Regions from separate parts of the Homo sapiens genome. Here all the other regions are linked to region 6. The links are contacts of gene promoters, found by promoter capture Hi-C in blood cells and fetal thymus (Javierre and others, 2016). All regions are on one chromosome and are shown on one strand. Each heading gives the region's core, a stretch centred on a gene start or on the middle of the fragment in contact. The rest is flanking DNA. Distances are from core to core; before and after follow the strand shown. Region 1 holds the start of TBCE (tubulin folding cofactor E). Region 2 overlaps ARID4B (AT-rich interaction domain 4B). Region 3 overlaps B3GALNT2 (beta-1,3-N-acetylgalactosaminyltransferase 2). Region 4 overlaps ARID4B (AT-rich interaction domain 4B). Region 5 overlaps B3GALNT2 (beta-1,3-N-acetylgalactosaminyltransferase 2). Region 6 holds the start of TARBP1 (tRNA guanosine 2 -O-methyltransferase TARBP1). Region 7 overlaps ARID4B (AT-rich interaction domain 4B).

What was found. The method cuts DNA at HindIII sites, captures the fragments that hold promoters and counts their contacts. A CHiCAGO score of 5 or more calls a contact.
Region 1: the fragment with the promoter of TBCE here is called in contact with the fragment with the promoter of TARBP1 in region 6 in 5 of 17 cell types (neutrophils, total CD4 T cells, naive CD8 T cells and 2 more); the score reaches 7.6 in neutrophils.
Region 2: a contact is called between a fragment that was not itself captured here and the fragment with the promoter of TARBP1 in region 6, in 6 of 17 cell types (erythroblasts, naive B cells, naive CD8 T cells and 3 more). The highest score is 9.3, in erythroblasts.
Region 3: a fragment that was not itself captured here is called in contact with the fragment with the promoter of TARBP1 in region 6 in 1 of 17 cell types (activated CD4 T cells); the score reaches 9.0 in activated CD4 T cells.
Region 4: a fragment that was not itself captured here is called in contact with the fragment with the promoter of TARBP1 in region 6 in 4 of 17 cell types (activated CD4 T cells, erythroblasts, non-activated CD4 T cells and 1 more); the score reaches 10.1 in activated CD4 T cells.
Region 5: a contact is called between a fragment that was not itself captured here and the fragment with the promoter of TARBP1 in region 6, in 1 of 17 cell types (activated CD4 T cells). The highest score is 7.2, in activated CD4 T cells.
Region 7: a fragment that was not itself captured here is called in contact with the fragment with the promoter of TARBP1 in region 6 in 2 of 17 cell types (naive CD4 T cells and naive B cells); the score reaches 7.4 in naive CD4 T cells.

What each region holds. Positions count from the first base shown.
Region 1 is chr1:235,366,155-235,369,782 of GRCh38, forward strand. It overlaps TBCE (tubulin folding cofactor E), which reads left to right and starts at 1,273. Exons shown (of 17, transcript NM_003193.5): 1 at 1,273-1,350. It overlaps LOC124904559 (a long non-coding RNA gene), which reads right to left and starts at 1,266. Exons shown (of 2, transcript XR_007066957.1): 1 at 1,056-1,266; 2 at 199-469. RefSeq lists enhancers at 980-1,693, 1,233-1,572. The HindIII fragment of the contact is 3,498 bases long and covers 1-1,284 here.
Region 2 is chr1:235,197,402-235,201,202 of GRCh38, forward strand. The region is part of intron 17 of ARID4B (AT-rich interaction domain 4B); the gene reads right to left. Among named protein-coding and RNA genes, the nearest start is that of MIR4753, 9.2 kb to the left of the region's middle. The HindIII fragment of the contact is 1,625 bases long and covers 696-2,320 here.
Region 3 is chr1:235,471,291-235,474,975 of GRCh38, forward strand. The region is part of intron 5 of B3GALNT2 (beta-1,3-N-acetylgalactosaminyltransferase 2); the gene reads right to left. Among named protein-coding and RNA genes, the nearest start is that of B3GALNT2, 31 kb to the right of the region's middle. The HindIII fragment of the contact is 1,975 bases long and covers 825-2,799 here.
Region 4 is chr1:235,179,087-235,182,625 of GRCh38, forward strand. It overlaps ARID4B (AT-rich interaction domain 4B), which reads right to left. Exons shown (of 24, transcript NM_016374.6): 20 at 2,499-3,539. Among named protein-coding and RNA genes, the nearest start is that of MIR4753, 9.3 kb to the right of the region's middle. The HindIII fragment of the contact is 692 bases long and covers 1,628-2,319 here.
Region 5 is chr1:235,452,291-235,456,219 of GRCh38, forward strand. B3GALNT2 (beta-1,3-N-acetylgalactosaminyltransferase 2) reads right to left here. Exons shown (of 12, transcript NM_152490.5): 9 at 3,269-3,394; 10 at 1,866-2,025; 11 at 800-856. It overlaps TBCE (tubulin folding cofactor E), which reads left to right. Exons shown (of 17, transcript NM_003193.5): 17 at 1-153. Among named protein-coding and RNA genes, the nearest start is that of B3GALNT2, 50 kb to the right of the region's middle. The HindIII fragment of the contact is 1,018 bases long and covers 1,102-2,119 here.
Region 6 is chr1:234,477,026-234,481,081 of GRCh38, forward strand. It overlaps TARBP1 (tRNA guanosine 2 -O-methyltransferase TARBP1), which reads right to left and starts at 2,154. Exons shown (of 30, transcript NM_005646.4): 1 at 1,148-2,154. The coding sequence starts at 2,078. RefSeq lists silencers at 1,251-2,050, 2,081-2,270. The HindIII fragment of the contact is 13,603 bases long and covers 1-3,928 here.
Region 7 is chr1:235,229,459-235,233,559 of GRCh38, forward strand. ARID4B (AT-rich interaction domain 4B) reads right to left here. Exons shown (of 24, transcript NM_016374.6): 10 at 1,655-1,731. Among named protein-coding and RNA genes, the nearest start is that of MIR4753, 41 kb to the left of the region's middle. The HindIII fragment of the contact is 4,902 bases long and covers 220-4,101 here.

The sequences.
Region 1 (3,628 bases), core at 23-2,522, 890 kb after region 6:
AATTAGAAGGTCACTTCTTGGAAGAGTCATTTGGCTTTGCTCCCTCAATTTCCTTTCCACTTCACCTCACTTCAGTCTGGTTTTGGAATGCTAACACTCACTCTACCCAAACTGCTCTTGTTGTGGAGTCTGTGGTATCCACCAATGGGTTCTTTCTGCCTGCTGCACAAACAAAATTAATTGACAGAAACCATGGCATTGCAGTAAAGAAAGTTTAATTGACGCGAGGCTGGCCATGCCACGTGGGAGACAGAGTTGTTACTCAAATCCATCTCACCAAAGGCTCAGAGGTTAGGGGGTTTTTCAGATAGTTTGACAGGTACGGGGCCAGGGAATGGGGAGTGCTGACTGGTTGGGTCAGAGGTGAAATCATAAGAAGTAGAAGCTGTCCTCTTGCACTGAGTTGGTTCGTGGATCCCCAGGTTGATGAGTCAGGGTGGGGCCATCCACTTGTCAGAAATGCAAAAACCTGAAAAGACATCTCAAAAGGCCAATCTTAGGTTCTACAACAGTGATGTTATCTGCAGGAATGATTGGGGAAGATGCGAATTTGTGACCTGTGGAATAATGGGTGGTAATCATTTAACTACAATTACAACTTAGAAGAATTCAGGACCCTCTCATTCTCCTAACTTGGTGGCCTTTCATTTAGTTTTAAAAGGGCAGTTTTGGGGAAGGGTTATTATCATTTAAACTATAAACTAAATTTCTCCCAAAGTTAGTTTGTCCTGTGCCCAGGAATGAGCAAAGACAGCCAGTCTGTGAGGCTAGAATCAAGATAGGAGTAAACCATGTCAGATTTCTCTTACTGTCAAAATTTTGCAAAGGCGGTTTCAACAGAAATTAACATGTCTAGGATAGTTGCTTTTTCTATTATTTTTTCTATCACTGCATTTACTTTCATTCTGCCTTATGCTTTAACTAGGTAATTTTTTTTTTTTTTTTAGTTTTGGCGGTATCAACACTATATTCTTCTCTTTGACCACCGCATGCTGCCTACGTGGTAGACTCTCAATACGCATGGAACTGAACCTCTTACAGGATTTGTAACTCACTTCTGTGGTATCTAGTAAACTGGAACACGCGCTTTCCCTGGGCTGCTCTGTCATCCCAGGTTTCAGCACTCGGAAATCGCTTGGGCCCCCGCCCAGAGGCGGGGCTTGGGTGGGCTGACCACTCCTCTGGCCTCCAATACTGTCGCTGACATTCTCGTCTATGCTCCAGCAGCCGTACCTCACTCCGGTGGAGGCGGGACTTCCTACAGCACTTCCGGCCAGAGCCTCAAGCTTCGCTGCTGGGCAGTTGGCTGGAGGGGCTGCTGCTGGGAACACCTGGAGTCTCCGCGGGCAGGTGAGCTTCAGAGGTTCGGGGAGCTTTCGGAACGAGCATTCCTGGCCGGTGCGTCACCCTGCAGTGCTCTTGGCCTTTTCTTCCTTTCCTGGAATCTTCCCAGATTGCCAGAGCCGGGCGTTGCCTGCTCCGTGCGCTGGGAGGCGGTCCAGCCGGCTGGGTTGGGGCCACCCTGCGCCTCCTGGAAGGCCTTATTTAGGAGTAGCCGCACGTGATCTCTAGCATTTTAAGCTTCTCTCAGAGAATTGGCATGTCACTTTGGAAGAGGTGAAAATGGTACAGGCGACCAACGACTTTTACAAGGTGTCACCTTAGAGGAACAGCCTCGTCCTTCCGAATCAGTTAACATTGGTGATGACAGAGAAATAACGTTAAATAGGTGGAGAGCACTTAAAGTAACTGTTTGTTCTTTTGAGACAGTCTTGCTCTGTCGCCCAGGCTGGACTGCAGTGGCGCGGATCTCTGATCTCGGCTTACTGCAACCTCCGCCTCCTGGGTTCAAGCGATTCTGCTGCCTCAGCCTCCCGAGTAGCTGGGATTACAGGCGCGTGCCACCACGCTCGGCTAATTTTTGTATTTTTAGTAGAGACAGGGTTTCTCCATGTTGGCCAGGCTGCTCTCGAACTCCTGATCTCAGATGATCCACCCGCCTCGGCCTCCCAAACTGCTGGGATTACAGGCGTGAGCCACCGCGCCCGGCCTAAAGTAACTATTTTTACTTGGTGTTTACTACCAAATGGGGACTGTTCTAAGTTGTGGGTGGATCCAAATGATGGTGTGACAGCCTTATCCTCAGAGAAGCAGTCCTGGCAGGAAGACGGGGTTAACAAATTGCCAAACTGTTAGAGAAAGTTAGTGGAGGTAGAGATGAAGAGAGAAGACTTTTCTTTTCTCTGGCATTAATTTAGCCACGGCCGCTGTGTTTTGATACTTGCTTCAAACGTTTTTCATATTCTTAAGTTTTAACTTTTCTGTATGCTCATATTTTATATACTGTTGTAAACAGCATATCTCTGGGTTTTTTTTTTAATCTAAGTGGACAGCCTGCTTTTTTTTTTTTTTTTTTTTTTTGATATGGAGTCTTGCTCTGTCGCCCAAGGCTGGTGTGCAGTGGCCCAATCTCAGCTCACTGCAACCACGCCTCCCAGGTTCAAGCATATCTCCCACCTCAGCCTCCCGAGTAGTTGGGATGACAGGTGTGTGCCACCATGCCCAGCTAATTTTTTTTTTTTTGTATTTGTAGTAGAGATGGGGTTTCGCCATGTTGGCCAGACTGGTTTTGAAGGCCTGACTTCAGGTGATCCACCTGCTTCAGCCTCCCAAAGTGCTGGGGCTACAGGTGTGAGCCACCGTGCCCAGCCCAGTCTGCCTTTTGACTAGCAGGTTTATTGGATTTACATTCATTGTCACTACTGAAATATTTGTCTAGATGAAAATCTTTGGTATCATCCCTGATTAATCTCTTCCATATATATCAGCAAATCCTATGGACTCTCCACCTTTAAAATCTGTCCACACTCCCAGGCTCTTGTTATCACCTTCACTTGTTCAAGTTACGTTGTCTCGTACTTGAATTACTGCAGTAGTTTCTGCTCTTTCCTCTTTTAGTCTGTTTGCATCACAGTATCTCGGTTGATCCTTTAAAAAAAAATCAGATTTATGTCTTTCCTCTCAAAAATCCTCCAAGGACTACACATTTCACCTGGAGTGAAAGCCAAAGTCGGCCGGGCGTGGTGGCTCATGCCTGTAATCCCAGCACTTTGGGAGGCCGAGGTGGGTGGATCACGAGGTCAAGAGGTCGAGACCATCCTGGCCAACATGGTGAAACCCCGTCTCTACTAAAAATACAAAAATTAGCCGGGCGTGGTGGTGCGTGCCTGTAATCTCAGCTACTCAGGAGGCTGAGGCAGAAGAATCGCTTGAACCCGGGAGACAGAGGATGCAGTGAGCCGAGATCGTGCCACTGCACTCCAGCCTGGCGATAGAGCAAGACTCTGTCTCAAAAAAAACAACAAAAACAAAAAAAACAAAAACTGGCTGGGCGCAGTGGCTCAAGCCTGTAATCCTGGCACTTTGGGAGGCCAAGACTGGTGGATCACCTGAGGTCAAGTGTTCAAGACCAGCCTGGCCAAAGTGGCGAAACCCCGTCTCTACTAAAAAAAAACACAAAAAATTACCCAGGTGTGGTGGTGTGTGTCTGCAATCCCAGCTATTAGGGAGGCTGAGGCAGGAGAATTGCTTGAACCTGGGGGCAGGCGCGGAGGTTGCAGTGAGCCGA
Region 2 (3,801 bases), core at 258-2,757, 720 kb after region 6:
CTCTAGCATAGGCCTGGAAAGTATCTGTAGCAAACTCCTGGGCAGTTACTCTGCTGGTACAAACTACTGGCTTGTAGCCAGTAAAAGCCAGAAAAGCTGAGGATTCATCCCCATGCAAGGGGTTCTGTTTATATGCTGGAAGATGCTGAGGGCCGTAATAAGAATAAGAGGGAATGGAATGAGCTTTAGGACAGACTTAACATAATCCCTGCTTCCTAGTTATGTGGTCCTGATCAACTCATTCTCAATCTAAGGCTTAGTTTATTTCTGTATAAAATAAGACTACAATTTAAAAACAAAATAAAAAATAATGGTACATACCATATATGGGTTTTTTTGTAGAAATATATGGTAAGTACTGGTGTAAGTACAAATATATGGTAAGTACTTTGAAAAGCTTTAAAGTAAGTATTCTTCTACTAAATACACTCCTTTTGGTACTTCTACCTGGCACTGTAGCATCTATCCATATATTTGCAGCAGTACTTTTACCTTTCCTATTAATATCGAAAATTGTATAATGCTTAGGAAAGCAATTTACTTCCTTCCAAAATCGGGGGCATGGTGGGAAACGAAAAGAAAACACCTCCATCCTCTGTAGATTTCAGTATGAACTCCTAGAAGTTGCTCTATTAGAAGAGTTATGGAAAGAAGAAGTCAAGATATCAACTTTGTTTTTAAAAGAAAACAAAACAAGCTTTCTAATTTTTTATGAGAGAAACTGAAGTCAGTTCATGATGGCTGCACATAACATTAATGTGAGCTAAACAAAGTTATAATCATGTTCTACCTTTCTTAACCAAAGGCTATCTGTTCTGTAGCTAGTTTTATACCAGACATGTTTTACTATCAATAAAAAACTGACTCAATTCAACCTGGGTTTTATTATCAATTATATTTTGAAGTAGGGTAAAATAGTAGTTTTCAATTTAAGAATACATGCATGATATTGCACATTTGTATATTTTACATGCAACACCAAACACATCAAACAAGGAAAAACAGTTACTGCCTCATGGGTAAGGCCACTGTGATAAAGGAAGATTCCTTTATTACTCAGATATAATGTATGTTGTTTAAATTCTCTTAAGAACAAGGTGGCAAGAACATACACATAAATAATAAAATGATGGATGCTTGGTATGGTACAGGCTGGGGCCCACTGCCTAAGCTCTGTAAATCCTATATGGTAATCATGTTCTCTTCTACTCAATTATAAAAGAAGGATGGTACAAGAGGACTGGATGTCAGAAAAATGTTAAGTAGTTGAGTTTAGATGTCAAAAGTGTGTTGGAGCAGGCAGGACACACACACAAAAATAAATTCTTAAATTAGATGAAACAAACTACATACATAGTTGTAATTAACAGTATGGCCTTACTATTCTGGAAAATTTTTGTTTTAAAATTCTCATGGGGCCGGGCGCAGTGGCTAACGCCTGTAATCCCAGCACTTTGGAAGGCTGAGGTGGACAGATCACCTGAGGTCAGGAGTTCGAGACCAGCCTGGCCAATATGGTGAAACCCTGTCTCTACAAAAACACAAAAATTAGCCAGGCATGATGGCGCATGCCTGTAATCCTAGCTACTCGGGAGGCTGAGGCTGGAGAATCGCTTCAACCCGGGAGGCGGAGGTTGCAGTGAGCCGAGATCGCGCCATTGCACTCCAGCCTGGGTGACAGAACAAGACTCCGTCTCAAAAAACAAAACAAAAAAAATTCTCATGGAATACTCTGTATGGTTTTAAGAAATTCCCTGAAAACTTACTATAGAGTAATAATGTAATCTAACAGCAAACATAATGTATAATAATATTACATTATATTTATAGATCTAACTTAACAGATCTATAAATATTAGCTAATATTATGACTCTTCTGTTATTTGGCTTCTTTCTATTCTACTTTCTCAGTGCTTTTATTTGTTTAATTCAGGCCCTTGTTTTGACACTAAGTTTTTGCATTTTTTTTTACCTTGCCAATTATGCTCTTTGTATAAAACACAGTTACACAATATTGTTACTGTTATCAAAACTAATAACTTTTAGAACTAGAGCATATCTTAAAAATTTATCAGGGCCTTTATTTCACAAGTTAAGAAATTCCAACAATGAAAGTGAAAGACAGTGCTTGCCAAAAAGCACTCCTGTGGAGAATTAGAGAAGAGAAGGAAATGGACTGCCCGGGAAAAGATTCTAACACGAAAATAACGGTAGGGGGCATTCCAGGCCCTATTCAGAGTAAGTTTAGTGAAGAGTGAGAGACCAGTGGCGTGAAGAGGAAGAAAAGGAGAAAATAACATGTGAGAATTTTGGTTGGGGAAGCTTTTTCGAATTACAAATGTCCTTACCAAATACAAGCTGAGATCACTGACACAAACATATTGGCAGACAAGTATTTCAAAACCTAATGAGACGTTAAATAGCACTTTAGTTGTCTGATAGATCTTACAAGAAAAATAAAGATGGTCAGAAGATTAAATAACTATAACTGATCATTGCTTTTAAAAATAAGAAATGTTCCTTCCGTATATGTAATTACCCATTACAATACTACCCAAGTGTTCCTTCTATTTTCTCTACAGGATATTTTCAAAGAATAGGGAAAAAAAAAAAAAAAAGCAAATTCATGTGGGGAGGCCGGGCACGGTGGCTCACACCTGTAATCCCAGAACTATGGGAGGCCCAGACAGGCAGATCACCCGAGGCCAGGAGTTCGAGACCAGCCTGGCCAACGTGGTGAAACTCCGTCTCTAACAAAAAGATAAAAATTAGGCCGGGCGCAGTGGCTCATGCCTGTAATCCCAGCACTTTGGGAGGCCGAGGCAGAGGTGGGCAGATCATGAGGTCAGGAGTTCGAGACCAGCCTGGCCAACATGGTGAAACCGTGTCTCTACTGAAAATACAAAAATCAGCCAGGCGTGGTAGCGGGCGCCTGTAGTCCTAGCTACTTGGGATGCTGAGGCAGGAGAAGAGCTTGAACCCGAGAGGCGGAGGTTGCAGTGAGCCGAGATCGCATGCCACGGTACCCTAGCCTGGGTGACAGAGCAAGACTCATCTCAAAAAAATAAAATTCATGCGGGGAAAAACTCTACATGAAAACCCCATATTTCCTACAGACATTAAAATTATATAAGAAAGAACGTCTTAGACTGGCATAATTACTGGTGCCAATTAATTTAAGAAAGCAATATTAGTGGGTCAAGATTTCTCATTCCTTACCAAAGAAGCACAGGCTTCAAAGAAGAATTTACTTCAGAACTACAACAAAAAGCTACAGTTAATCCTACTTCTTCTTTATAAATTTAGACTTTTAAAAATACAGTACATTTAGTATATATTAAAAAGAGACAACACCAAATTTACCTTAGACATAATAGATAAGAAAATAGTCAATGCAGATAGAAAATGGGAAATTTTAGCTCAAGTTCACATATCTTGAATTTCATAAAAAATTAAAATAGGCCAGGCCCGGTGGCTTATGCCTGTAATCCTAGCACTTTGGGAGGCCGAGGAGGGCGGATCACAAGATCAGGTGTTCAACACCAGCCTGGCCAACATAGTGAAACCCCGTCTCTAATAAAAATACAAAAAAAATTAGCTGGCTGTGGCGGCGGGCACCTGTAGTCCCAGATACTTGGGAGGCTGGGGTAGGAGAATCACTTGAACCCAGGAGGCAGAGGTGGCAGTGAGCCAAGATCGCACCACTGTGCTCCAGCCTGGGTGACACAGCGAGACTCTGTCTCCAAAAAAAATAAAATAAATAAAAATAAAGTAAAACAAAATAACTGGAAAGGAAGTGGC
Region 3 (3,685 bases), core at 562-3,061, 990 kb after region 6:
GATACACCCTGATTTACTCATTTTCCCCTACTATTAGACATTTGGTTGCTACTAAATGTCTACTAAAATATCTACTAAGTATCTACTAAAATAATGTAGGCATGTTTTGGTGTACATGTTTATTTACTCCTAACAATTTGTTTTGTACTTACATTCCCAGAGTGAAATTACTGGGACAAGAAAGAGATATTTTTATGGATTTTGGTATACACCGCCAACTGCTTTTTGAAAGCAACTTTTACTAATTTATAGGGTTATCAGCAATGTATGAGAATGACAACTGCACTGTATTCTCCCTGGTATGGGATACTAGTAAACAAAAGTTTAACCTAATATACTAGATTTTTACAAAATGATTCCTTATTTAGTTGGATTTATTTTTCAGTTTTTGACACAGAGCCTCGCTCTGCCACCCAGGCTGGAGTGCAATGGTGCGATCATGGCTCACTGCAACCTTCACTCTCCAGGTTTAAGCGATTCTCTTGCTTCAGCCTCCCGCGTAGCTGGGATTACAGGCGCTCACTATCACGCCCGGTTAATTTTTGGATATTTAGTAGAGACAGGGTTTCGCCATGTTGGCCAGGCTGGTCTGGAACTCCTGACCTCAAGTGATCTGCCCACCCTGGCCTCCCAAAGTGCTGGGATTACAGGCATGAGCCACGGCGCCCTGCCTGAATTTAAAAAAAAAAAAAAAAGATTGGCTTAGTTGGATTTCTGATTCCTAGTGATGTTTATGAATTGCATGTTCTCTTCTGAGGACTGCCTTATCATGCTGCTTTGCCATCTGCCCTCTGAGTTTTCTATTTTTCTTGTTCATCTATGCAAGCTTTTAATAAAGTAATTATCTTAATCCTGTGCACATTTTATATGCTAAAATAGTTTTTCATTTGCTACTTAATGCTATTTTTGAAATTCAGAAGTCCATAAATTTCACCTTGGCAAATCTGACAAACTTTTCCTTTGTGATTATTACTATTAAATTCTGAGCTGAGAGAGCTATGCCCCCCTGTCCCAAGGTCTGATATATATTGAAATCTTAATGTCTTCTAATTTCTCCATGATCCCATTTTTAATTCTGTGCACAGCTGGCTCCTTAGTCCTGCTCAGGTCTCAGCTCCACTACCTTCTCCTCCGAGAGGCTTTCTCCAGATGTCCTCCAGAAGGCTCCAACTCCCAACTTCTATCACATCAACCTGTTTTATCTTATTAATACCATTTATCACTCTGATATTTCTTATTTTATTTTATTATTAAACTAACTGCCTCTACTAGAAGACAAACACCTTGAGAACAGGAAGGAGCTTGCCTGATCAACCACTGCATCCCCAGCATCGAGCCTGGCCTGACATGACTGACAACTCAAAATGTTTGCTGAATAAATAATGTTGAACTAAAAATCAACCAGAATTGACTATAGTATAGAGGATTAAATGAAAGATATACCTCTAATACTCTAAAAACTTTCATGTTAAAATGAAGGGATAAAGTACTTTACAATAATGTCTCATTTTAGCCAGCAGTATAGGGAAACCATACAAAATTCAATTTGATAAGCTAGGTCAGTGGTTTATAAACATTTTTTTCCCTCTGCACAGAGTGATATAAACTTTTTCTTTTTTTTTATTTTTATTTTTTTGAGACGGAGTCTCACTCTGTAGCCCAGGCTGGAGTGCAGTGGCGTGATCTCTGCTCACTGCAAACCCCACCTCCCAGGTCCTGGTTCAAGTGATTCTCCTGCCTCAGCCTCCCAAGTAGCTGGGATTACAGGAATGTGCCACCATGCCTAGCTAATTTTTGTATTTTCAGTAGAGATGGGGTTTCACCATGTTGGCCAGGCTGGTCTTGAACTCCTGACCTAGTGATCTGCCTGCCTCAGCCTCCCAAAGTGCTAGGATTACGGGCGTGAGCCACCGCCCAACCTTTCCCTTCCTTTCTTTCCTTTTTTAAAATAAATAATATTTTTTTCCTCCTCCAAAACAGATAAAAATATTCCAAGAGTCCGGATTCCTCAGGCAGTTTATCGCTCTGTATTCAGCTAATGTATTTTCTTCTAAAACTTTAATAGTGATAGAGTTTGGAAGGATTGATAGCATATATACTTAGGATAAGGAACTGATAGGACTTGGTGAGTACCTGGACATGAGAGTGACGATAACTCTCATGATTCTGGTTTAGGTGACTTGAGGAAAAGGAGATGGTTACCCAAGATTAAAAATACAGGCGATGAGAACAGATGGGATGGAGACAATGTTACCATTAGAATGCCCATGGGACATTCAAGTGGAGAAGTTCAGGAGGCAACTCAAAGCATGTCTGGAGTTCACAAGAGATGCTGGGGCTGTAATTATAGATTTAACAGCCTTCAGCATACAGGCAGTAATGAATGAAATTGCCTGGGAAGAATGAGTAAAATAAAACAGAAGGCTAGGTAGCAAATCCTAATGATTAATATTTAAGAGGAAAGCAAAAAGGAAATAATGAATCATACCAAAAGTAAAAACTATAGTGACCAGATAAAAATCCTCACCTTGAAACTACAAATCTAGAAAAGATGATGATAAAACGAGTAATTCTCTGTACTGTCCATTCAATTGACATGACATGTGACATGCTATTTCACAGTGGGTCCTTCCTGGCACCCAACTCCATTTTGTCTGTGACTAGGCTATGATACAACAAACAAATTCAATGAATAATTGAATGTGTTACCAGAAAAATTCCCTAGTCCTCCCAAATCATCTTGACTTACTCATGGAACTTAAATAACCCATCAGCTGTTTTGTTACTAAGCAAGGAAGAAGCTTTATCTTCCACCTATCTCCTAAACCTGTTTCTGCTCCACAACACAGTTTAATTTCTATTCCTCACCTCTGCTCTCATACACCTACTTTTTATTCTGATGTAAGGCAATTATGAAGCCAGGTATCTCTTAAGATCCAAAACAACTTGTTTATGGCAATTCCCTTACTAAGATCATAAAAACCAAAATAAAAGTTGGGAAAAAATAGCATGATACAGGTTGGAAAAATGAGATATCATATCTATCTCTCCCATAACATAAGCAAGCTGTCTGTAACTCCTTTCACGCATCAACTCTTTTCCATAAAGCTTCTAATTTCTCATCCAAACAACAGAGTAGCTTAAATATATACAGTACTTCTGTGCCTATAAACATTAACAACTTCTTGTGGATTGGAGAAATGACTATATATAAAGAATTTCAACCTTCACAAAAAATAAGGATATAGGCTGGGCACGGTGGCTCACACCTGTAATCCCAGCACTTTGGGAGGCCGAGGTGGGTGGATCACCTGAGGTCAGGAGTTCAAAACCAGCCTGGCCAACATGGTGAAACCCTGTCTGTATTAAAAATAAAAAAAATTAGCCAGGTGTGGTGGCAGGCACTCGTAATCCCAGCTATTCAGGAGGCTGAGGCAGGAGAATCATTTGAACCTGGGAGGTGGAGGTTGCAGTGAGCCAAGATTGAGCCATTGCACTCCAGCCTGGGCAACAGGAGTGAAATTCTGTCTAAGGATGTAAGCGTCCATAATGCTAACAATAACGTCGCTAGTGACTTAGGTGAACAAAAATAGTCTGCTTTTTACTGAAATTAGTTACAGGTTCCAACTGTACCATTAAGGACAACATAAAATTAGAGACATATATATATATATATATATATATA
Region 4 (3,539 bases), core at 724-3,223, 700 kb after region 6:
AGAAATAAAAACCTTCAATGTAGAGTAAATTAAGAGGAAAAAACTACATCTAAATAGTAAAACTTAAATTTTAACTTGTGATATAGTGGGGAGTCTCCAATATTCATAGTAAGTAAATTTATTAAAATGTGGCCATGTGAAACAGGTGCTTAAGAACCTATTTCTGGCTGGGCGCGGTGGCTCATGCCTGTAATTCCAGCACTTTGGGAGGCCAAGGTAGGTGGATTACCTGAGGTCAGGAGTTCGTAGACCAGCCTGGCCAACATGGCGAAACCCCATCTCTACTAAACAAAATACAAAAATTAGCCGGGCGTTAATCCCAGATACTCAGCAGGCTGAGGCAGGAGAATCTCTTGAACCTGAGAGGTGGAGGTTGCAGTGAACCAAGATTGCACCACTGCACTCCAGCCTGGGCAACAAGAGCAAAACTCTATGTCTCAAAAAAAAAAAAAAAAAAAAAAAAAAAACCCAACAAAAAGAAAAACACCAATTATTTCTAAAGAGATATAAATTACCCTAAATTTAGGAGTAGCTTTCAAATTCCACAATTATTAACCTAGTCAAGATTAAGATTCAAAAGGGCAGTGTTGACTTAGTCTATTAGCAGAGAAGATATCCTCTTTTTTTTTGTTGTTAATTTTAATCTTTTGTAAGATATTACGAACATAATAAGGATACAACCTCTTAAAAACTACAACAATAGGCTAGGCACGGTGGCTCATGCCTGTAATCCTAGCACTTTGGGAGGCCAAGGCAGGCAGATCATGAGGTCAAGAGATAGAGACCATCCTGGCTAACATGGCGAAATGCCATCTCTACTAAAAATACAAAAAATTAGCTGGGCATGGTGGCACACGCCTGTAGTCCCAGCTACTCAGCAGGCTGAGGCAGGGGAATCACTTGAACCCAGGAGACGGAGGTTGCAGTGAGCCCAGATCACACCACTGCACTCCAGCCTGGGCAACAGAGCGAGACTCCATCTCAAAAAAAAAACCCCCAAGAAAACCTATAACAATAAAACCTGTTTTTTTCTTTCTTTTCTTGTTTTTTCTTTTTTTTTTTTTTTTTTTTTTGAGACAGGGTCTTGTTTTATCACCCAGGCTGGAGTGCAGTGGCGTGATCTTGGCTCACTGCAGCCTTTCCGGGATCAAGTGATTCTCCCTCATCAGCCCCCAAGGTAGCTGGGACTACAGGCATGCGCCACCACAGCTGGCTGACGTTTGTATTTTTGGTAGAGATGGGGTTTTGCCATGTTGTCCAGGCTGGTCTTGAACTCCTGGACTCAAGCGATCCACCGCCTTGACCTCCCAGACCTCCCAAATTGCTGGGATTACAGGTGTGAGTGACCACACCTGGCCAGTAAAATCTTACTGTTGAAAGCCTAATATTCTGAAATAAAGGATTCTTTCATTTTGAAGATTAGTCATGCCTGGATAGTTCAGTTGCATGAGATAGTATGGCACAGATAAAATCATAGTAGTTATACTTGTAAATGTGAAAAAAAGCAAAGAACATTTCAATTTAATTGCAAGTATTTTTTTAATTTATTTTAAAACAGAAATGTTTTAAGTCAAGATTCCTGAGAAAACATAGAATTAACTAATTTGATCTAGACCATATCTCTTTAAGCTTTGCTGAAAACCTAAAGCTAGCATTCTAAAATCTTTTACGGTATATAAAAAACATACTCCAGTGCTCTGTCTTTACGATGGAAAAGTGTGTTCCAAAGCCAGGTGTCAGCCTAGAGTATACTGATTTAAAGATACCTGAATGAAGTGGTTTATAAGAAAAATGATGACAGAAGTATGGCTATGGCACCATCGAAAGGCACTAATACTTTGGGAAGGTACCGATTTGAATTTCCACTTTTAACAATTTCACGGAAAATCAAAAAAGTATTACTGTAGGTTATTAACGTACACATTGGTCCTTCAATTTGGAAGCTATGCATCTAAGAAAGCATCAAATTCCTTTACAAACTCACACAAGTTAGTCAGGCTTGAAAATCAGTTTGACACGGTTGTCTGAGGAAAGCAGTGCCTGGACAGTTGGTTGCTCCAAACCCCTACATACAGTATTTGGTTAAGGGTGGAGGGGTCTGTCAATAAATCAAAATGTTCGTGAGAAACTGCACATTACAATTGCAAAAACAATGTTACAGAAATAGATTTAAGCTGCTCATGCCATATAGTCAACCACTGCATATAATGAATTCTCAAACAGGTTTGGATTTGGGCCTGGGTGCAATTTCTAGCATGTGTTCTGGTCCACAATAAAATGCCATGGATGGCTCAAGCAAAGCACATTAAAGCCTTCTCAAGCTTTTAAATGCATTCCACTATTCATTTTCAAATTACCTTTAAAATTTCCATTTTTACCATGTTCACACAAATATGACACTTAATCGCCTCAGGTTATAACAAGAGATACTGTGAAATCATTGAAACTTTAAGAGGGGAAACCCTAAAATAAGTCAACATACACATTTTCCTTCTCACCTTTTTCAGGATGTTCTGGTTCTGGCTGATTACTACTGCTTGAGCTCACACTGGCATCAAAACCTGCTGGCGAGCTATTCCCTTCAGACTGGAGGTCTTGGAGCTCCCCAGCAACACTATCCACCTCAATTGTGCTATCAGTTTCACTCTTGATACTTCGAACCTCTTCTTGGTTTGGAGCCAGTGGTTCTGATACTGTTACAGAAGACTGCTGCCGGCTGCCTTCTGTTACAGTGACTGATGAAGGCGATTCAGGTGTAGTAGGAGGGGTATTTAGCACTGAATTACTGCCACTACTTGGAAATTCTGCTTTTCTGTCATTGACCTCTACTGTTTTTTCTTCAATGGGTTTACTATCGACATTGACTGGAGGTGGTTTTTCTAGTTCTACACTGGGTGAACAACTCTCCTCTTCAGCCACAGTCTGCAGTGACTCCTCTGCCACCCCCTCCTCTGGGGCAGGATGCGGTGGGGAAGCTGCAGCCTCAGTATCAGAGTCTGAAAAAAGCTCTTTCAGCGTTTTTTTAGGCCACTGTCCCTGAATACTTGACCAGACATCTTTTCGATCTTTGGCCCTGCTGTTTTGAAGTCTTTCATCAGAGTTATTTAAAAGTTTAATCCTTTTTTCTGCCACTTCTGAAAATCCTGAATAGAAACCAGTTGTCCGTAGAGATTTTCTTTTTTCCTCCAAACCATTGTATTTCTTAGTTGGTGTCATCTTTGCTTTTGTTTCTTCTTCATCTTCATCTGAAGAGCTGTTGCTACTGTTTTCCATGCAAAGTGATTCTTTGTTCTTGGCCTTCTCTTCCTTTTTGCCAGGTGATCCAGTTTTTAGACACTCTTCTGTATTGCAATACCTTCTTTTACCACGTTTTATTTGTGGTTTTGAAGATTTATCTGTTGTGTCCTTCTTGACATCCTTTCTCTTTTTTGTGACTTCATCTTCTTCATAATCAGTATCTTCGGATAATACTTCTATATCTTTCCTTAATCTTTCTGGAGATTTTGACACTGGTTTGGATATTACCAAATCTGCATGAA
Region 5 (3,929 bases), core at 361-2,860, 970 kb after region 6:
CTGCAAATAATTTCTGATCAAATCTATGGAAACTGAGTTTTTTTGTAGGCAGGGGAACGTTGATTTATAACCTTTTGCTTTAAACTCAGAAAAATACTGTATGAGAAATAACCTAGTGGATTATTGTGAATTAAAGCAACAGCATAACTATTATGGTAGAAGATCCTCATTCTTTCTGCCCATGGTGTGATAAACATTACAGGTTGAGCATTCCAAATCTGAAAATTTGAAATCCAAAATGCTCCAAAATCCAAAACTTTTTTTTTTTTTTTGAGACAGGGTCTCTCTCACTCTGTTGCCCAGGTGGGAGTGCAGTGGTGCATTCACAGCTCCCTGCACCCTCGACCTCCCAGGCTCAAGTTGATCCTCCTACCTTAGCCTCCTGAGTAGCTGGGACCACAGGCAGGCGCTGCCATGCCCAGCTAATTTTTTTGTAGTTTTTGTAGAGACGGGGGGTTTCACCATGTTGCCCAGGCTGGTCTTGAACTCCTGGGCTCAAGTGATACACCCACCTTGGCCTCCCAAAGTGTTGGGATTACAGGCATGTGCCACTATGCCCAGCCCAAAACTTTTTGAGAGCCAACATGACACTCAAAGGAAATGCTCACTGAAGCATTTCAGATTTTCAGATTTGGAATGTGCAACTTCTAAGTATAATGCAATTATTCTAAAATCCAAAAAAATCTGAAATCCTAAATACTTCTGGTCCCAGGCATTTTGGATAAAGAACACTCAACCTGTATATAGAAATCCACCTCCTCAACTCTTAAGAACCCTGAGGCCATCCCCAAAGACTTACCTGGTATCTTTTAGGTCCTATGGCAGCCATCCAGATGCCCATGCTTACATCTTCACCCTATACATGGCCCATAAAGTTTAAATGTAAAAATTTTAATGCTATTTTATTTGTAAAGACAAAACCATAGCCACTCCCATCATAAACCACCTTTCTACTTTTTTGCTCTGTTATTATTCTAATATGAAATAGCAAAAATGGGTTCACATGAAGTCAAAGCTAGTGGTCTTTAATATGAAGCACCCCTGCCACAAGGTAATAAGATGAAACCGCGAGCAGACGACCCATCCTTCTCATGTACCTTAAGCTTCCAGGAAGCACTTAGGGCTTCCTCCTTAGGAATAAAAATCTTTCTATTCCTCCAGGGACTATACTTTTTTTTTTTTTGAGACAGAGTGTCCCTCTGTCGCCCAGGCTGGCATGCAGTGGCGCAATCTCAGCTCACTGCAAACTCCGCCTCCGGGTTCACATGATTCTCCTCCTCAGCCTCCCAAGTAGTTGGGAATATAGGTGTGCGCCCAGCTAATTTTTTGTATTTTTAGTAGAGATAGGGTTTTGCCATGTTGGCCAGGCTGGTTTTGAACTCCTAACCTCACGTGATCTGCCTGCCTTGGCGTCCGAAAGTGCTACAATTACAGGCATGAGCCACAGTGCCCAGCCTCCAGGGATGACACCTGTAAATACTAGCTGAAAACATAATAAGTAGGCTCAAAAAAGATTTAGGAATAGAATTTAAAGGCAAGATTTGAGGGATGTAGGGGTGCATCCTTAACCTTTGAGAGGTGATTCCTATACAGAGAATAACGTGCTTTTCCCCAAGGTAAGTGGGTTCTGCTTTCCATGATGGGATGCCGAGTGAGATGAAACTTGGTGTGATGAGTGTATACGTAGGTGGGAAATCCTTAATTTTTTGTTTTTATTTTATTTTTTATTATAGAGATGGGGTCTTGCTATGTTACCCAGGCTGGTCTTGAATTCCTGGGCTCAAGTGATCTACCCGCCTTAGCCTCCCAAAGTGTTGTGATTACTGGCAAGAGCCACCACGCCAAGCTAAGAAATTCTTAATTACCTGATAGGTCTTTAACCTCCCCGAGTTGCTTGCCAGCCACTTGACGATGTCCTTGGAGATCACATATCCTGACCCACATGCAAAGGCAGGGTAAGCGGGGCTCGGGTACTCCAACTCCTGCCACTTTCCGGTTCGGTCAACTGCCCAATTCAGTCTGAAACTGAGATGAAAAATAATGTGGCCTCTTGTGTTAGTCTGACACATATCCTGCCACTATTAAAACTTGACTCCTTTATCATCACTACAAAGGAATAAGCTTGTAGAAGTGAGGAAAGAAAATAAGAAAATTTCTTTTTTTTTGAGATGGAGTTTTGCTCTTGTTGCTCAGGCTGGAGTGTAGTGGTGCCATCTCGGCTCACTGCAACCTCTGCCTCCTGGGTTCAAGCAATTCTCCTGCCTCAGCCTCCCGAGTAGCTGGGATTACAGGCGCACACCATCATGACCAGCTAATTTTTTATATTTTTAGTAGAGACAGGGTTTTGCCATGTTGTCCAGGCTGGTCTTGAACTCCTGACTTTGGGTGATCCACCCTCCTCAGCCTCCCAAAGTGCTGGGATTACAGGCGTGAGCCACTGCCCTTCCAGAAAAAAATTTTCTTAATCTAAGGAAAGGAATTATCATTTATCCAGTGTTGTTTTAGATAAAAGATTGGTTATGTTAAATTTTCTCAAAGTTGCATTTGTAGAGTTTCTGAATGAAAAGCACTAGAAGATCACCCTGTGTTTTAGTATATATGAAAACAAAAAACCAAATCACTAATCCATATTGTATTCCTGAGGAAGCACAGAAAATGGTTTCAGAGACGTGTCACAAACGTACTCTAACAAAATATACAGTAGCTTCTAATGTGAATACCATTTATTTCTTTGGCATAAGAATAAAAGCCATATTGTTTTCCCTCCTTTACTACATTAGCCTGAGGCTTTTCATTTAAAAAATAATTTCCTCCAATTGTACAGTAATATAAAATTTATTATTATTATTAAGACAGGGTCTCCCTCTGTTGCCCAGGCTGGAGTGCAGTTGCAAAATCATAGCTCACTGCAGCCTCCAACTCCTGGGCTCAAGCAGTCTCCCTGCCTCAGCCTCTCAAGTAGCTAAGGGCTACAGGCTCACATCACCTTTTTAATTTTTTGTAGGGACAGGGTCTTGCAACGTTGCCCAGGCTAGTTTTGAACTCTTGGCCTCAAAGGATCCTCCCACCTCAGCCTTCCCAAAACTCTGGGATGACAGATGTGAGCCAGCATGACTGACCTAGAGTAATGAAATATATATAAACCCAGGAGTCTAGTACGAAATTGTATATCTCAACCACATTTTCAAAAAAAAAAGATATTTTATGCTTTATTAATTACATTTGATCAGGTACACGAATGCCAATGGGCTAAGAATGGTTAACTTACTTTCCCCACCAAAAATTAGGCCCATCCAGATTCTTTTGGACAATCCTATTAAATACAGCTTCGAGGTCTATGTAACAGTCATCATCTGTCTTCAGCAACAAATTGAAGCTCGTTGTTTCCACAGTCCTGTTGACACAAAAGGGATAAGAAAGTCAGTGCGACCAAACAAACAAACACCAATGCAGTGGCGTCACTAACACTTTCATTCAAAACTGTACCTGTCATTATCTAAATTTCTTATTCCTCAAATGTTGAGAACATTTGCTCTAACAAAATTTTGCTGCTATCAACTAAGGCCATCACTTGGTCTTTACTAAATGGCATAACACAGAGAAGTACTAACCTGATTTTAAAAGGCAAAGAAAGAGCATATTGAAGGAAAATATCTGGCTTAAATGGAACATATGTTCAAACAAATGCTTCTTAGGCATCATTCAACTCCTGCTGCCAAATCTATTAAACGCCTGAACCTTGCCCCGTGTGTTCTTAATAACAAAGGCCCAGCATAATGAATTAGGTGTTACATCTGGGCCTCTCACACAGAACGCTATTGTACAAGATGCATCCGATGCTATTTATATTACACTCAAAATATTTTATGGCTTAAAAAAACCTGACTTATTACATTGAAACATATTTTCCCTTGGAAACAACTTCTAGC
Region 6 (4,056 bases), core at 904-3,403:
AAATACAAAATTAGTGGGGCATGGTGGCGCATGCCTGTAATCCCAGCTACTCTGGAGGCTGAGGCAGGAGAACCGCTTGAACCCGGGAAGTGCAGGTTGCGGTGAGCGGAGATTGTGCCATTGCATTCCAGCCTGGGCAACAAGACCGAAACTCCATAAAACAAACAAACAAACAAACAAAACTGCAAAATAACAGACTCATGTAAATAAATGAATGTTTTAATTTTTGATGATTTAAAAAATGTTTTCCAGTGAAAACTCTCAGGGATGATCACACCTATCTGTGGACTGTTCAAATATTTACTCTCTAATGTTTTAAAATTACTTGAAAATATAACCTCATAACTTCAGCCAAACAAAAATCCTTTACCTGTAATAAATGGTCAGCTACCGTTGAAAAAGTAGAAATATTCTATTGAGACAATTTTGAGTCAATCTACTTTGTACTTGACAGTTTAAACCCAAATTTAACATGAGTGAAGTCAAACCAATCAACAGTAACGTAACAACTTGAAGGGAGGCCTTGCTGTTTCATTACTCTTGCACATAGTAGGGAGCAAAGCTCAAACAGTTAAAAAATAAAATCTGATTCATTCTATTAAATCAATGGCAAAAATACACTCAAAAGGTCGACTTAAGAAACATGTTTAACAAATATTAGTAAATCCTGTTCCTAATTACCAGGGGAAATTTCAGAAGAGTGTGATGGCCTCTATGACGCTTAATTCTAACACTCAACACTCAATTCACTAATTCACTGGTCAGTACAGATAAATAACAAATAATTTTTCTTTCAACTTGATAGATATCAACCGTTTCTATTGGGTTGAATCTACCATGATATAGTGCAGATTTGGGTCTGTAAAATCTTGCACGGGCTCCATTATCTTCCTAAACTATTCCAGGGGTGCTGTATTCCACCGGCTCTGGGTTAGAACGTTCCCAACCGCAGTGATTTGTGACTTCAAAGAACACCCTCGAGAAGGGGTTCCAAAGGTTTTCAGGCTTTAGGGGAGCAACGCGGAATAACCAAATTCTGCATGGATCGGAGTGACGACCCCGATAAGCTAGTTTTTAGAAGCAGGAAGACTCCCCTCTGGGGCAGCCAAGTAGGTAGCACTAGGCTGGGGGGCAAAGAGGCAGGTACCGTTTCCTTCCTGGGGCCCGCAGGTGCAGTCGGCCCCCAGCTCCGCCGACACCTCCACCGCCCTCTGCAGCAGGTAGCGCGCTCGCTTGCGCGTCAGGGCGTCCGCCTGGCCCAGCCCCGCCTGCACCGTCCTCCAGAAGCGCCAGCAGCGCCGGGCGTCCGGGCCCGCCTCGCGCGCGCCGCGGGCGCGGTCGCCGCCGGGCTCGGGCAACAGCTTCTCGGCCAGGGCGCTCAGGACCAGCAGCTTCTCCTCTACGCGGCCGGACCCCAGGGACGCCCCAGGCGCGGCCAGCCCGCCCCACACGGCCCGCAGCGCCGCCCCGCCACATTGGACCAGCACTGGCAGCAGTCGCCCGGCCACCAGCGCCGCCGCGTCCTCGGCAGGCCCGGCCTCATCCCCGTCCCCGCCCCCGCCCAGCGCCAGGGCGACGGCGGTCCCCGCCACGCGCTCCAGTAGCGGCCCGTCCTCGCGGGGCCGCAAACATGGCCCGACGGCTGCTAGCACTTCCACGGCAGCCTCGGCGCCAGGCGCGCGCCACCCGGCGAGCAGATCGCGCAGCGCCTCCTCAGCCAGCGCGGCCGCCAGCTGCGGACGCCCGGCCAGGCGGACGCACGAGCGCAGGGCCGCGCCCGCCGCCCTCAGCACGCGCCGGCGGTGGCGAGGCTGCAGACTGGGGTCCGGGCCGCCCGCGGGGCGTCCGCGCAGGCTCCGCAGCAGTGGCACGAGGTACCCTGCAGCCACCTCGCGCGCCGCCTCCGGGAGCGCGCCTGCGCCCCCGCTGCCGCGCGCCTCCTCGTCCTCGAGCCGCTGCAGAAGGAAGCGCAGCGTCTCCACGCGCTCCGCGGATGCCTCCCCTTGGCACAGCGCCCCAAGCAGGGCCCGGGGGTCCCGGCTCTGCGAGAGCAGCGCTTCCGCGAGCACCCACTCCATTTGCCGAGCGCCCGCGCCACCGGCCCGGGCTCCCAAAGGAAGGCGCCGGCGTGTGCGATGCGTGCGCACAGGACCGGCCGGCCCCTACGTGCGCGTGCGCCGACGGAGCCGGGCGCGCGGCCGCAGAGAGGGGGATCCCAGCCCGGCTTGGTGCAGCTCAGCTTCCCTTGGGTTCCTGCCACCAACCCTGCCTAGATAGAACCCACCTGGTCTCTTATTTTTAGGAGAAACGAGGCCTTCGTTAAAAGTTAATGTAGTATCTACACCAGCTTCATCGATTCCTGATTGGAGGTTGGTCTGCCCAGGACCCTAAATCAGGCGTGCCTGTGAGCATAAACCAGTTCACAGAAGGTGCACAGCAGAATCACTTTAGATTATTTTCCAAACGTTGCATGATGGGCACCATCCACAAAGAGACTGACACAGTAGGTCTGAAATTGGTTCTGGACATCTGCATTAAAAATAAGTCATGAAAACACAAGAATGATTTAGACGTAAGGCCAGGAGTGAGAAGTGTTACCGGTGGAGGGTGTCCAGGTCCAAGAATTGGACAAAGCGCACAAACAAAGCAAAGACAGAATGAAGCCACAAAAGCAGAGATTTATTGCAAAAGTACACTCCACAGGGTGGGGGCAGACCCAAGCAAGCCGCTCAAGGGGGGCTGGTTACAGAATTTTCTGGGGTTTAAATACCTATAGAGGTTTCAATTGGTTACTTGGTGTACACACTATGTAACTGAAGAGGATAAAATGAAGTTACAAAGTTATTTACTTGGTGTACTCCCTATGTAAATGAAGAGGATATTTCCTGTCATAGCTGAAGTGTTTCTATCTGATTTGGTTCTAGGGAGTTTTTGGATTCCCTGCCTCCAGGCCCTATTCTCCTGCCTTAGAGGTACCTATAGCAATGTGCTAGGATTCAGCTAAAACCAAGATGCCCACGCCAGCCCTCACAGCCAAGTGCCCAAGATGACTCCAGGATGCAGAGCCTCCTGCACAATGCATGTGCTCCCATGTGCAAACTCAAAAATAGTCCCTGTGTCTGTCTTTTCTGTATTTCTGACAGCATCCATTGCTAAATAGAGAAACAGAAAACCTCACCTCGGCATGCATGGTGTGGATTTGGTTCCTGGCTCAATTTGAGACAAACTAGATCAGTGACATAGGGTTTTCTTCGCTACTAAACACAAAGATCTGCCTCTTAGTCAATAGAGAAAACAGGGTCCCAACTTCAAAGAGCTTGACATATAATAACATAATGGATAAGACAAAAATTAGTTATTTAAATTTACAGTTATTTTTATATAAAGTTATCTGACTTTAAGGTTATCTGACATTACACAGGCAAGACTTTTTTCATATTTCAGTCATTCCGTTTTTCATTGACAAAATGCATAAATGTTTCTATTTTAAGCCCTTTTAACATGTCAGTAAATATCAATTACCTTCAACATAAAATGTGCAGAAAACTATTGTTTCTGTCAACATATATCTAACAAATATAAATGGGTAAATGTCTTGAGCACTTAACAAACGAAGATACACAAATGATAAGCACTTGGAAAAGTGTTCAACATCATTAGTCATCAGAGAAATGCAAATTAAACCCACAATGAGGTACCACTTCATACTGATGAGAATGGCTAACATGTAAAAGCTCGAAAACACTAAACGGCAAAGACCAAGGGTGTGGAGCAACTGGAATTCTCATACATTACTGGTGGGCATGAAAACGGTACAGTCACTTTAGAAACTGTTTCTCGTAAAGTTATAATATAGCTGCTTTATGATTCAGCGATTTCACCCCCAGGTAATTACCTAAAATAAATGAAAACATGTTTCAAAAAAAAAAGCTTGCAGAAGAATGTTTTTGACAACATTATTCGTTATAGCCAAAAGCTTATAACAACCTAGTAGGTGTTAGGTAACAACCTACATGTGCATCAAATTGAAGAATGAATAAAAAATTGTGATCTATC
Region 7 (4,101 bases), core at 1,421-3,920, 750 kb after region 6:
TAAAGAAATAAAAACTACTGTGCTAATACCACTGACATTTATTGTTTGCTATGTACCAGAAACTGTGTTAAGTGCTTTTAAATGTAGCAATATATTTAATCCTATCCATCCTATGCATTAGGTAGTCATTTTATAGATGGCAAAACTGCCACCATTGGAAGATTACTTAAGTTTAAATAAATAAAAGAACAGCAGTTTTATTCTTTTAAACAAAGATTAAGCTTCACTAGTAAAAACCTTTAATACAGGAAATCATGTAATATCTTATGCAACAAACAATTATCAAACAGTATTAATACCAGGCACAGAGCCATTAAAATAAATATACAATACCTGAAAACTGACCACACATGATTTTTACATTTTCAGTTGAACTTCAATTAAAACTATGGTAACAATTACCTTCAACTAAAATTAGCTAGACACAATTATTCTCATTTTATAATATATGGGAATAAATTATATACCAAAAAATCTTGATGATTTTAACCAATCTACATAGCATATTACTGAATTCAAGGAATAAGGGCAAAGAGAAGACAACTATTTACAGTGCCAAAAATCAAGTGACAGATGCAATTACCACATATTCCTCAAATAAAACTACTGGAGCCTTGTGGTTAAGGATGTACATTCATTAGTGAGAAATACCAAACCAAAATTACTTTGATTCCTCAGTCAGGCGTGATGGCTTATGCCTGTAATCCCAGCACTTAGGAGGCCAAGGCGGGTGGACTGCCTGAGCTCAGGAGTTTGATACCAGCCTGGTCAATGGTGAAACTCTGTCTCTACTAAAAACACAAAAATTAGCCGGGCATAGTGGTGGGCCCCTATAGTCCCAGCTACTTGGGAGACTGAGGCAGGACAATCGCTTGAACCCGGGAGGTGGAGGGTGCACCGAGATTGTACCACTGCACTGCAACCTGGGCGACAGAGCAAGACTCCATCTCAAAAAAACAAAACAAAACAAAACAAAACAAAACAAAAAAAACAACAACACAAAGTTACTTTGATTCCTTTCTTCTACCATTCCCAGAAACTAATATTTTATTTACCAGGCAAAAGCTAGATTATAGTAACAGCTGACTACACAGTTCTCTCCCATTATTCTAGATTATTATGCCTGACTATAAGCTAAAAAAAAAAAAAAAAAAAAAACCAGAAAAAAAAAGGAAACCTATGGTTGGGCGCAGTGGCTCACACCTGTAATCCTAGCACTTCGGGAGGCTGAGGCAGGTGGACTGCCTGAGCTCAGGAGTTCGAGACCGGCCTGGGCAACACGGTGAAACCCCAGCTCTATTAAAATAACAAAAAATTAGCCGGGCATGGCGGCGTGTGCCTGTAGTCCCAGTTACTCGGGAGGCTGAGGCAAGAGAATTGCTTGAACCCAGGAGGCAGAGGTTGCAGTGAGCCGAGATTGCGCCACTCCACCCTGGGCGACAGAGCAAGACTCTGTCTCCAAAAAAAAAAAAGAAAAGGAAACTTATAACACAGAAGACACATGGGTTTATAAAAATAAAGGTCACAAGGAACCAAATATAACCATAAAAACATAATTTAAAGAAAAATTTTAAAGAGCAAAGAAAAATTTAATCTTCAAAAACACTTTAGCAGTTTTTACAGTACTTGTAATTTATTCCAAGATTATCCTTACCTTGCTTTAAAACAGCATCAGGCTTTGGTGCAGTGTCACTAGTAATTTCATGGACATCTTTTCTTGGAACTGAAGTACTATATATTTTTTTTAATTATAAGAGAAGAAAAAAAACCCAAAATATGACTGAGATTAATTAAGAATCCAGATGATTACATATCACAGAAAGATACTGAAAATATGGGAATGTTGACGTTTACAATAAAAGTGATTGCACACAGAGTAGCAAGTCAGAAATAACATACAAGACAGGATGTTAAAATACGTAATCATCTACAGAAGGATCCTACCATAAGAGCTATTTTATAAACACCAACGTGTTCCCAAATACCAGAGTCCCCTGCCCAAATGCAACACTGAAAACTTTTTTTGTTTTGTTTTGTTTTGTTTTTGAGACAGGGTCTCACTCTGTCATCCAGACTGGAGTGCAGTGGCACAATCTTGGCTCACCACAACCTCTACCTCCCAGGCTCAAGCGATTCTTCTGCCTCAACCTCCCGAGTAGCTGGGATTACAGGCACATGCCACTACCACCCGGCTAATTTTTGTATTTTTAGTAGAGACAGGGTTTCACCATGTTGGACAGGTTGGTCTTGAACTCCTAACCTCAACTGATCCACCCACCTCAGTCTCCCAAAGTACTGGGATTATAGGCATGAGCCACCACACCCGGCCAAAAACGATTTATGGCAATATAATGATAAAATGTTTGGGGCCAGCCATGGTGATTCATGCCTGTAATCCCAACACTTTGGGAGGTCAAGGTGGGAGGACTGCTTCATGCCAAAGTTCAAGACCAGGATAGGTAATATAGCGAGACCCAGTCTCCACAGACAAACTAAAAAAGTAAGCAAAGAATTAGCCAGGAGTGGTGGCATGTGCCTGTAGTCCCAGCTACTTGGGAGTCTGAGGCAGGGAGCTGACTGGAAAAAACCCAGGGCAGGGTTACAGTGAGCTATGATCGTGCCACTGCACTCTAGCGTAGGCAACAGAGCAAGATCCCATCTCTTAAAAAATAAAGGTTGAGCTGAGTGCAGTGGTTCACAACTGTAATCCCAGCACTTTGGGAAGCTGAGGCGAGTGGATCACCTGGGGTCAGGAGTTCAAGACCAGCCTGACCAACATGGTGAAACCCCATCTCTATTAAAAATATAAAAATTAGCTGGGTGTGGTGGTGCATGCCTGTAGTCCCAGCTACTCGAGAGGCTGAGGCAGGAGAATCGCTTGAACCTGGGAGGCGGAGGTTGCAGTGAGCTGAGATTGCGCCATTGCACTCCAGCCTGGGCAACAAGAGTGAAACTCCATCTCAAAAAAAAGTAAATAAAATAAAATAAATAAATAAATAAAGGTTGGACACAGTGGCTGACAACTGTAATCCCAACACTTTGGGGGCCAAAGTGGGCAGATCACTTGAACTCAGGAGTTCAAGACCAGCCTGGGCAACATGGCAAAAAAAAAAAACCCTACAAAAATTTGCCGAGCGTGGTGGCACACACCTGTAGTGCTAGCTACTTGGGAGGCTGCCAGAATACTAGTTACCACACTGTACATCAGATCCTGTACATTTTATTCATCTTACCAATAAAAGTTTGTGCCGTTTTACTAACGTTTTCCCATTTTCCTTACCCCCCAACAATTTAATATTAAGTCAATATTCAATTTCTGTGCTCAAATTCCTCTGATTATCCCAATTTTGTTAAAGTTGGTTCTACATTTTTTTTTGTTTTGTTTTGTTTTGTTTTGAGATGGAATCTTGTTGTTGTCACCCAGGCTGGAGTGCAATGGCATTATTTCTGCTCACGGCACCCTCCATCTCCCAGGTTCAAGCGATTCTCCTGCCTCAGCCTCCCTAGTAGCTGGAATTACAGGCGCCCACCACCATGCCTGGCTAATTTTTGTATTTTTAGTAGAGACGGAGTTTTGCCATGTTAGCCAGGCTGGTCTTGCACTCCTGACCTCATGATCCCACCTGCCTAGGCCTCCCAAAGTGCTGGGATTACAGGCGTGAGCCACCGCGCCCAGCCTACATACTGTTTTTGAAGCTAACTTTTCAGACTGGGTGCAGAGGCTCACGCCTGTAATCTCAGCATTTTGGGAGGCCAGGGCATTTGGATCGCTTGAGCTGAGGAGTTCGAGACCAGCCTGGCCAACATGGTGAAACCTTATCACTACAAAAAATACAAAAATAGCCAGGTGTAGTCCCAGCTACTCAAGAGAAATTGAGGTGAAAGGATAACCTGAGCCCAAAGGGTCATGGCTGCAGTGAGCCATGATCATGTCACTGCACTCCAGCCTGGGTGAAAGAGTGAGACCCTCACCAAAAAAATGAAATAAAGTAAAATAAAATAATTAAAAATAAAAATACCTTTCCCGAACTTGAAAATTCAAACATCAAATCTTAAAACATGATGACCTTTTTAAGGTATTTATACCCAATACAATTCTGT